Regions from separate parts of the Homo sapiens genome. Here regions 1 and 2 are each linked to region 3. Evidence: promoter capture Hi-C in 16 types of primary human blood cells and fetal thymus (Javierre and others, 2016). All regions are on one chromosome and are shown on one strand. The core of a region is centred on a gene start or on the middle of the fragment in contact, and the rest is flanking DNA. Distances in the headings are between cores, read along the strand shown.

The links. The method cuts DNA at HindIII sites, captures the fragments that hold promoters and counts their contacts. A CHiCAGO score of 5 or more calls a contact.
Region 1: a contact is called between the fragment with the promoter of CIAO2A here and the fragment with the promoter of PDCD7 in region 3, in 5 of 17 cell types (naive CD8 T cells, total CD4 T cells, fetal thymus and 2 more). The highest score is 13.7, in naive CD8 T cells.
Region 2: a contact is called between the fragment with the promoter of RAB8B here and the fragment with the promoter of PDCD7 in region 3, in 2 of 17 cell types (naive CD8 T cells and fetal thymus). The highest score is 11.1, in naive CD8 T cells.

Annotation. Positions count from the first base shown.
Region 1 is chr15:64,092,344-64,095,784 of GRCh38, reverse strand. CIAO2A (cytosolic iron-sulfur assembly component 2A) reads left to right here and starts at 1,947. Exons shown (of 5, transcript NM_032231.7): 1 at 1,947-2,140. The coding sequence starts at 2,017. RefSeq lists enhancers at 1,535-2,264, 2,625-2,674, 2,310-2,872. The HindIII fragment of the contact is 2,171 bases long and covers 232-2,402 here.
Region 2 is chr15:63,187,393-63,190,968 of GRCh38, reverse strand. RAB8B (RAB8B, member RAS oncogene family) reads right to left here and starts at 1,363. Exons shown (of 8, transcript NM_016530.3): 1 at 1,221-1,363. The coding sequence starts at 1,344. It overlaps LOC101928972 (a long non-coding RNA gene), which reads left to right and starts at 1,538. Exons shown (of 4, transcript XR_932355.4): 1 at 1,538-2,123. RefSeq lists a silencer at 1,279-1,608 and an enhancer at 1,789-1,938. The HindIII fragment of the contact is 3,523 bases long and covers 1-2,725 here.
Region 3 is chr15:65,132,448-65,135,592 of GRCh38, reverse strand. PDCD7 (programmed cell death 7) reads left to right here and starts at 1,785. Exons shown (of 5, transcript NM_005707.2): 1 at 1,785-2,681. The coding sequence starts at 1,812. RefSeq lists an enhancer at 1,500-1,599 and silencers at 1,890-2,099, 2,160-2,559. The HindIII fragment of the contact is 3,462 bases long and covers 1,033-3,145 here.

The DNA.
Region 1 (3,441 bases), core at 698-3,197, 1.0 Mb after region 3:
TGGGGCCAAAGGGGCAGAAAAGTAGGAGTTAGGGGCTGCTCAGGTTTCTAGGGCCCTTTGTGCTCTGGATAGCTTTATCCAACAGGCTTCTAAGAGTTCGTCTGAATGAAGGAGTGTCACTAAAATGTTTGAAAACCTCTACATGCCATCTACCCATGCCAAGCACAATGCCCTCACAGAGAGTCAATAAATATTTCGATTGAGGTATCTGAACAAGACTAGAAGAAAGCTTCACCACTTATTCCTTGAGCAACATTCAGTTAATTCATTAAGAAATACAGATACTGAGCATCTACTGTATGCCTGGCACCTTGCTGTGAGTTTCAGATACAGAAATCAGGTATTTAATCGACAGTTCGACATGTTCAATGCTATGGTGCCCTGTGGGAGCACAGGGAAAGAGATAATCAATTCTGCTTGGAGAAGTAGGGAGGCCTCACAGATGAAGTGAGGCCTCAGTGTCCTAGATTTGGCTGGAAAAATGTTAGGATTATCCTCTCAATTGCTGTGGAGTAAGTGGAGTGGAATAGACGGCAGGGAAATTATTGAACCCTGACCAAAATTTCCTTGGGACCTAAGCAATTCATTGTCTGGTGATCCTAAGGCCTACATTAACTAGACAAACAAGACTGGAGTTTAAAGATAAATGGGCATGTTAGCATGGGACAATTCTGCAAGATAATCCTATCTTCTCAATAGAAATGGCATTTGTCACCAACTTTGACAAGAGGTTTAGTTAGTTTGGTTGTAACTGCAAATTCAGGGATGGACTCCCTCACAGGTCATGTGAGCTGTTTGAAGGCGGGGGCAGCGTTTTATCTTTGTATCTTCCATGCCTATGGATCACCTATGGCAAATTAGTACCTACAAATTTGATCGGAGGGATGGATGGATAAAATAAAATCGATTTTGTTACTGGCATCCATCACACCCACGAACACCAGAGGGCTTAAGATACACTTTTTTTTTTTTTTTTTTTTTTGAGGGAAGTCTCGCTCTTCTCCCCCAGGCTTGAGTGCAATGGCTCGATCTTGGTTCACTGCAACCTCTGCCTCCTGAGTTCAAACGATTCTCCTGCCTCTGCCTCCCAAGTAGCTGGGATTAAGGCCCCTGCCACCACGCCCAGCTAATTTTTGTATTTTTTAGTAGAGACGGGGTTTGCCCATGTTGGCCAGGCTGGTCTCGAACTCCTGACCTCAGGTGATCCGCCCGCCTCGGCCTCCCAAAGTGCTGGGATTATAGGCGTGAGCCATCGCGCCCGGCCAAGATACACTTTTAAGGATGGCGATCTCCATTATGTCACCACTGTACACATTAGACACGGGAAAACTTATGTTCTAAGTTGTCTTTGGAGGCCATTAGCAGAAATATTCGTTCAAAGGTGGGAAGCTGTGCTGGACTGAGTCCCTTAGGAGACGAGAAAGCCAAAAAGCCCTCCCCATGCCATACCTGACTACCTCACTGGCTTCCCATGACATCCCTTTTCACAGCAACTGAAACCTACTTCCTGTCCGATCAGGAAGTAAGAAAGACGTTGGCTGTCAGCGGATCCCGCGGAGAAATAATTGTAAAGAGTCTCCGTGCTGGAGAACTCAAGATCTCCTTTCCCCTACCCCTTCAGGATTCATCTTTAACTTATCACGGATACTGAGTGAGTCAGTCGCGGTTAACAGACCGTTACATCCACTTCTACCAGGCGGACACTACAAGTCCCAGAATACAATTCGCTGCCTTCCGAAGAAAATAGCTCACGCATCCCAGCATGCAATGTGCTGACGAGCCGCGAAGATTGTTTTTGTCCCGCCGAAATCGAGCAAAGCACGCTGGAACTTGTAGTCCTTGAGGCCCCTTCCCTAGGTCCTTCGAGCTACTCCGTCTGGCCCCGCCTTTTCTCTGCTCTCCTGAACCTTTAGGCTTGTCTCGGCCCATTTGAAGACCAGGAAGTTGATCAATCCCGAGGCTGCTGAGAGACGGTGGCGCGATTGGGACAGTCGCCAGGGATGGCTGAGCGTGAAGATGCAGCGGGTGTCCGGGCTGCTCTCCTGGACGCTGAGCAGAGTCCTGTGGCTCTCCGGCCTCTCTGAGCCGGGAGCTGCCCGGCAGCCCCGGATCATGGAAGAGAAAGCGCTAGAAGTTTATGGTAATTAATTTTACCCAGCACAGCATTTGGCGTTATAGGTGCAGGCCGGAGCTGAGGGGTGCGGGGATGATGGCCTCACCTGAGGGCTGGGAGGGGAGACCTTTTTTTTTGTTTGTTTGTTTGTTTGTTTTTGGCCAGATCTTGTCCGGGGCGTAGCAGGCGCTTTCTTCGGGGTCCTAAGTCACGTGGGGGGTGTGGGTCTTTCTGGGAACTGGGCTCTTCGTAAACCTGGGGCAAGCCGAACCCAGAGGTCTTAAAAGCTTCATTCTCCACGTGTGGCCTACGTCTTAGTAACCATTCCAAGACTTGTGGGGAGACCACAAGTCTAGGGTGCCTGGTTAGGAAGCAAAGCTGGCCTGATTGCACTACTAGAGCCTCGTTCTCTAGCTCCTGGACACGCACTCTTGCTACCGCTGAGGGCGCTTGTGGGTGACAGTCGAGTTGGGGACTGGCCCAAGGTCACAGCCACTCTATCCGGCAAAGTCAGTAAGCAGAGGTCCCCGAAAGAAGAGAACGAGATTGGCTTCTTGTAGCAAGGCCTTGTGTACACACACATAACGCACACACACACATACACACTCTTCCATGTTGCATATTAAATATTTTCTGTTTAACCCTTGGGGCCATCTTTATTGTACAAATGAGGAAACAAAGGTTAAAGAACTACCTGGAGGTCACACTGCCAGTAAGGAACAGAGCCAAAAAGCAAAGGCTGTGCCTACTGGTTCTAACCGTAATGCACTTTCCACCACTTCACAATTGCCTTACAACTTTTTGTTTGTTTGTTTTTTTAATTATGTTGTATTGTTTTTGAAAACCGAAAAGACTGGATATAATATTGAGAGATCTAACCATAGAATACAAATATAATTCAAGTAAGGATTATAGGCCAGTAGAAGGAAGCCAGGGTTAGGAAATACTCTGGGAGCTAATTTGGTTGACCTCTCTTACTAGAGGCAGGACTTACCTAATCAGCCTCCAGGCAGATGATAATTGTGAGTAAAATGATCTCCACAAAGCAGACCACATCCCTGTCCTGCCAGATCTCTGTCCACATAATCTAGGGATGGTAGGGCACTGGAGATACAACTTTGGAAGAGAGTGACTCTAGTCTTCAAACTGATATTGAAGGAAACCCATATATGCAAAAATAGAGTATGTAATAGAAGGCTGTAGACTGAATAAGAGATACAGAAATTCAGAGAAAGGGAGATACTAGTCTCTGACTGAGGGGATCTAGAAAGACTTTGAAATAAAGAGAAGGAGCCACTTGAGTTGGGCCTCAAAGAATAATTAGGATC
Region 2 (3,576 bases), core at 114-2,613, 1.9 Mb after region 3:
CTTCCAGTACAAAAGTAGAAAGGACAGCTCCCAGCCAGGATCAGAAAAACTCTTGATTCAATTGGAAGTAACTGAGAGGTATATCACATGTTGTGATTCACTTAACAATAATTAGAACCAAAGCAAAATATACAGGGAGGCAGGTAGAATGTAAGTTCATTTCCTTGGCTGAGAAGCTGTTAAACATTCAAACCGAAGGATTTAAAATACTGAGAAGTCTTGCTTCTCAGGAGATGGTAGTAAAGAGGTGAACCATATTTTCCTGACCACATCATTTCCAAAAGTCACCAATTCCCTTAACATCCATTAACACTCACAGAACAAATTAACGCTCTATAGACATTATTCCATCATTAGTCACATTTTGCTTTCTCCTGCACTTGATCCAAAGGAAGTGAAGAGAAAATGGTAATCAGTTACTATAGCAAGTCTTGCGCCCCACTACTTTCCATTTCCTCTCTTTTCCATCTCCTCTGTCTTCTCTGCTCAACCTCCCTTTACTATGATGTTGCTTCCTCTTTTCCTTTCTGTCTCACACCCAGATCCCTTTACTTTCTCCATCAAGTATCCTCATTCTGCCCTCTGATCCCTTGAACTCTTCTTCCACCTACAATTTTCTTCTGTCCCCTCCTACGACATCTCAGTCCAGACCTCCTGTGGCCAGCCGTCCCCTTCTTCCTCACCTCCTGACCGCTCATTCCCCTGAATTCCCTTCCAGTTGCCTGGTTCTCACCTCTCTGTCCCTTGTGTCCTCTGTCCCTTTACTTCACATCCCTCTCATTGCCCCCATCCCTCATTTCCCCCTTCACATTTCCTTCCTCTCCTGTCTTTTAATCATTGGCACGTCCACTATCCCCTTCTCTCTACATGAGATTTCCTGAGTCTTCCCCCCAACACATTTTGTCCCTCAAAGACCCCTCCCTGTCAGTCTCCGAACCCTCTCGTTCCCCCAATACCCCTAGTCCTTGTTCCTCTGTTCCCCTTCCCGTTCCTTTGCCCCCAAGTTCCCCCTTCGCCCTTAGCCTCACGTTCCCGCTCGCCTCTCTCCCTCACGCCCTCGCCCCTCTCCCTCACGCCCTCGCCCCTCTCAGTGCCCCCGCCACCTTGCAGTCCCCGGGGTCTCCTCTCCCGGGCTCCCAAGCGCCCCCCGCCCTTTCCCCGTCCCCTAGTACCCGCCCCCCAATTCTCTACCCGGTCCCGGGCCGCGGCCCCTCCCTCACCGATGGTGGAGATGAAGGTGGTGTTGAAGGCGTCCTCTGAGAAGCGGAACAGGAGGCAGGTCTTGCCTACCCCCGAGTCGCCGATCAGCAGGAGCTTGAAGAGATAATCGTACGTCTTCGCCATCTTCTCGCTCCGGCCCTCTGACCGGGGAGCCAGAGGAGGCGGTGGAGAGAGGCGGGGAGGGGGCCGCGGGCGAGGGGGCGTGCCCGCCAATCCGCCGCTGCTCGCCCCGCCCCACGCCCCGCCCCTCCTCTCGGAGAAGGCCTGCGCGCCCCGCCCCGTGCGGCCAATCGGCGAGGGCTTCGTCATCACCGCCCGCGCCCCGGGACTTCATGGGACTTGTAGTTCCTCCGGGGAGCCTCGGGCGTGCCCCGCGAGGACTGTCCAGGCGGCTCCAGCGGATAAAAGACCTGCTATGGGCGGGGTGACAGGGTGGAGGCGTTTCCACCCGAGCTGGGAAGGGAGGCCCCGTTTCGTACTCTGCTGGTCGAGCCGCGGGAACTTAACTTTGTTATTTCTTTGTGTGCAGACGCCTTCCAAATCCAGGACCTCAGAATCAGAGCCCCGTAGTTCCCGCATCTCTTCCGCCGAGACCTGGAGCAGAGATGCTTTCTTTCCTTGGCGCTGCTGTGGCGCAGCCTACGGGTTATCTGCAGAGGGCATTATCCAGCTTCTCCCCGAGGCCATGCCCAGCACCACTATAACCCCCTCCCGCAGCCCCTCAGTCACAGAGCTGAGAAAGAATGGTTACCATGCTAACTCGAACCTCACTCGTGCCCCCTTCTTCACGCCACACAGACCAGAGCCAAATACAATGAGTATTTAGAGAATCTGCTACGCTGATCGCTCCCCTCTCCTCGCAGGAGGATGGATTTTTAAATCTGGGAAGTCTTGTGCTACAGGTCTGTGCCCCATGAAACTGCAAGCATCCTGTGAGGCGGGCCACGGGAATTTAGAGAGTAAGATTTGAATTTAGTCTTGGCTCTGCTGCAAAACCGCTGTGACAAGTCACACAGGCACTGGACATTTCAGTTTTCTCATCTGTAAAATGGATATGAAACAAGATACTTCATAGGGTTCCAGTGAAACTTAAATACTAAATGTGAAAGTTCTTTGAAACCCATAAGGCACTGTTAGCAGTGATGGTAATATTCATTACTCTTCAGTAGGCTCTCACTTAATTGATGACGAATATAGGGAGGAAACAGCATTCTGTTATACTCAAGTTAATCCTTTATTATTTATTGTCTTAGGCTAATTCTCTGTTTTGTGGATGTATTGTTCAGTCCCCTTTCATTTGCTAGTGGCAGAAACCCAACCGGATTAGCTGTTGTGAAAGGGGTGTTGACTGGTTCAGGTAATGTGGAAGCAAAAGGCTAAGAAGGTGTGGGACTAGGAGTCCACCCTGCCAGGGCTCTGTGTCTCTCATCTGTTGTTCTCCCTTCGAAGTTTTAATTTCTAATATGTCAAATACCGACAGGTAAAACCCACATGAAAAAAAGCTTCTTGGAGTCTTCAATAAGTTTTAAGAGGATGAAGGGGTCTTGAAACCAAAGTATTTGAGAACCACTGGTCCAGACATTTACCTTAGCTATAAGGAAACACCTTCTGGAAGGCTAGAGGTTATTAAGGGAACCAGTGGACTCCACCATTAGTGGAATAAGAAAAGGGGGGGGGGGAAAAACCGTGGACAGTTAGTTGAACAAACCAGCAGGCTTTTCTAAGGACACATACTGTGTGCCTTGTGACTTTAGGAACAGTGCCACTGATAATCCATTCTCAGTTGCATTGTGGCAGAAGACTTAGTTGGCCCTAGAATTGGCCTTCATTTTCTATGCGGGTAAAAGATGAAATGTGTCATCATTAACTGATTGATCATACAGTAGCCAGAGGGCTGCTGCTGCTGCTGCTGCTGCTTACGGAATGTCTCATTCCTAGAGTCCACTAGATAGGAACAAAGCTCTAATGAGTTCAAAGTCACAGTGTCTGCCCCTAATGAAGAAGGATTCTGCCCTCTGGCACAGGCTGAGCCCTCTTGCCCAAGCCAGTCCTTGAGCAAGCCTCTGAACGTGGCTTCAGCCATGATCTGAACAGTGTGGATTGTTCTATATCTTCCTCCTCATTCCTGGAAAAGAAGGGGAAAAAATTCCGCAAAGACCAGTGGAATTTATTTCTTTTTAAAAATGTATATTTATGGCCAGGCGCGGTGGCTCACGCCTGTAATCCCAGCACTTTGGGAGGCCCAGGCGGGCAGATCACGAGGTCAGGAGATCGAGACCATCCTGGCTAACACGGTGAAACCCCGTCTCTACTAAAAGTACAAAAAATTAGCCGGGCATGGTGGCGGGCGCCTGT
Region 3 (3,145 bases), core at 536-3,035:
CGCCTCGGCCTCCCAAAGTGCTGGGATTACAGGCCAAAACTGGCATTCTATCAGGCTTCCCACTAGACATAGTCCTGTAACCTAAGGCAGGTCCAGTTCCCTGCAGCTTGCAAATTCAAATAACAAGTAAGAGAATGGTAAAAAGAAAGTGACTGCCACGGGCACGGTGGCTCACGCCTGTAATCCCAACATGATCCAAGGCAGGCGGATCATGAGGTCAGGAGATCGAGACCATCCTGGCTAACATGGTGAAACCCCATCTCCACTAAAAATACAAAAAAATTAGCCAGGCATGGTGGTGGGCACCTGTAATCCCAGCTACTCGGGAGGCTGAGGCAGAAGAATGGCATGAACCCAGGAGGCAGAGCTTACAATGAGCCAAGATCACGCCACTGCACTCCAGCCTGGGCGACACAGGGAGACTCTGTCTCATAAAAAAAAAAAAAGAAAGAAAGTGGCCAGGTGTGGTGGCTCACACCTGTAACCCCAGCACTTTGGGAGGCCAAGGTGGACGGATCACCTGATGTAAGGAGTTTACGACCAGCCTAGCCAGCATTGTGAAACCCCCTCTCTACTAAAAACACAAAAATTAGCCAGGCGTGGCAGCAGGGGTCTATAATCCCAGCAACTGACTAGGGAGGCTGAGGCACCAAGAATAACTGGAACCTGGGATGCAGTGGTTGCAGTGAGTGGAGAGTGCGTCATTGCACTCCAGCCTGGGTGACAGAGGGACTCTGTCTCAAAAAAAGTGGGGGGTGCACGGGACTTGGTTGACCTGGATGGCATGCAAGGGGTGGGGAGGGACCAAGGAGGTGCTGGGTCTATGGGACTTGCTCCTATGTATCCATCAGTGATCTGGTTGGCGCCATGGAGGCTGGGGCGAAGGCGGAGGGGGGGTGGGGGGTAGCGGGGAGCTAGGTTGTAAATTGACAGTTGTCCCCAGGCAATCCCCTGGTATGGGAAAGTTCCAGAGGTCCCTGGTTTAAGCTTCGGTCCTTGGAACTAATAAGCGAACACATAATTAGATAAGCTTACAGTGTAGAGAGTGTCTGGTGGAGAGAAGGTAAAGGTTAATTGGATTTTTTTTTTTGACAGGTGTCATTCTGTCGCCCAGGGTGGAGTGCAGTGGCGTTATCGTGGCTCATTGCAGTCTTTACCTCCCAGGGCTCAGGTGATCCTCCCACCTCAGCCTCCCCAATGGCTGGGACTACAGGCCGATCTCGCCTGCCTCGGCCTCCCAAAGTGCTGGGATTACAGACGTGAGCCACAGCACCCACCCTATAATTGCATTCCTAAAGAGCTAAATAGGAGGTGGGGTGAAAGGAGAAAAGTAAAAATAATTCATTTTTCTAAGAAAATGGGTAGTTGGTCACACTCCTATTTACTAGGGCCTTTGCACATGTTCTCATCTGCACTGTGCTTCCCTCTCTTTTTCTATTTAACTATTTATCTTCCAGATCTCAGCTGCAGCCGCAGTTTCTTAGGATAACCTTCTCCAACTTCTCGAAGATACTCACCATGATTAATTGATTAGTGTGTTATACTAGGCAGATAGTTCCACGAAGAGAAGCTCTGTATCTCTCAGTCTCACTGTATGCGGAGTGGGTAGCTCTGCACCTAGGATGCTCAATAAGAACGGTATTTATGAACTGAACGACAGAAGGTTGAACGACTGCCCACTTATGCACTGAGCCTTCCGGAGGGACGAGTCTACAGGGGTCGCGCGTCGTAACGACGTCACTTCCGTCGGAAGGTTCTCATGAGGAGCCACTCAGATTCCTGTCACTTCTCAAAGCATCTCCGTCGTGAACATGGCCCTGCCACCATTCTTCGGCCAGGGTCGCCCAGGCCCACCGCCCCCGCAGCCGCCGCCTCCTGCTCCTTTCGGCTGTCCGCCACCGCCGCTGCCCTCCCCGGCTTTCCCGCCGCCTCTCCCCCAGCGGCCCGGCCCTTTTCCGGGGGCCTCCGCCCCCTTCCTTCAGCCTCCGCTGGCTCTGCAGCCCCGAGCCTCCGCGGAGGCCTCCCGCGGCGGAGGCGGCGCTGGCGCCTTCTACCCGGTGCCACCACCGCCGCTGCCTCCTCCGCCGCCCCAGTGTCGGCCCTTCCCGGGGACCGACGCCGGCGAGCGGCCGCGGCCACCGCCTCCCGGCCCGGGGCCGCCCTGGAGCCCGCGGTGGCCTGAGGCGCCGCCGCCGCCGGCCGACGTGCTCGGGGATGCGGCCCTCCAACGCCTGCGCGACCGGCAGTGGCTGGAGGCGGTGTTCGGGACCCCGCGGCGGGCAGGCTGTCCGGTGCCCCAGCGCACGCATGCCGGGCCCAGCCTTGGCGAAGTGCGCGCGCGATTGCTCCGGGCTCTGCGCCTGGTGCGGCGGCTGCGCGGCCTGAGCCAGGCCCTGCGCGAGGCCGAAGCCGACGGCGCGGCCTGGGTCCTGCTGTACTCCCAGACCGCGCCGCTGCGCGCGGAACTGGCCGAGCGGCTACAGCCGTTGACCCAGGCTGCCTATGTGGGCGAGGCGCGGAGGAGGCTGGAGAGGGTCCGGCGCCGCCGGCTGCGGCTTCGCGAGAGGGCCCGGGAACGCGAGGCCGAGCGGGAGGCAGAGGCCGCGCGGGCAGTGGAACGCGAGCAGGAGATTGACCGCTGGAGGGTGAAGTGTGTGCAGGAGGTGGAGGAGAAGAAGCGGGTGAGAGCAGCGGCCGCTCATGGGGGTAGGAGTGGTGGTGGTTGGAACCTGGAGCAGCAGGAGGCTTTAAACTTCCATTTCCCAGGGCTAAGCCTCTGTTTTACGCGCAAAATGAAGCGATAGCTAACCTTCCCAGCTCATACCACCATGTTAATTTTGTGTTAATGATGTGTGGTACACAAAAGTTCCAGGTGCACTGTAAAATCCTGTAAACACAAAGTATAGGATTACACGGTGGCACTGCACGAATGACAGGTCTCCCCTATCCTGCTCCAACATTGTCCACTTACTCTCAAAACCAGTAAGTGTCTAGTTCCTTGTGTCTTGTACTGCCCTAGGTGGTTTTAAGAATACAAAATACAGGCCGGGCGCGGTGGCCCACGCCTGTAATCCCAGCACTTTGGGAGGCGGAGGCGGGTGGATCACGAGGTCAGGAGTTCAAGACCAGCCTGGCCAAGATGGTG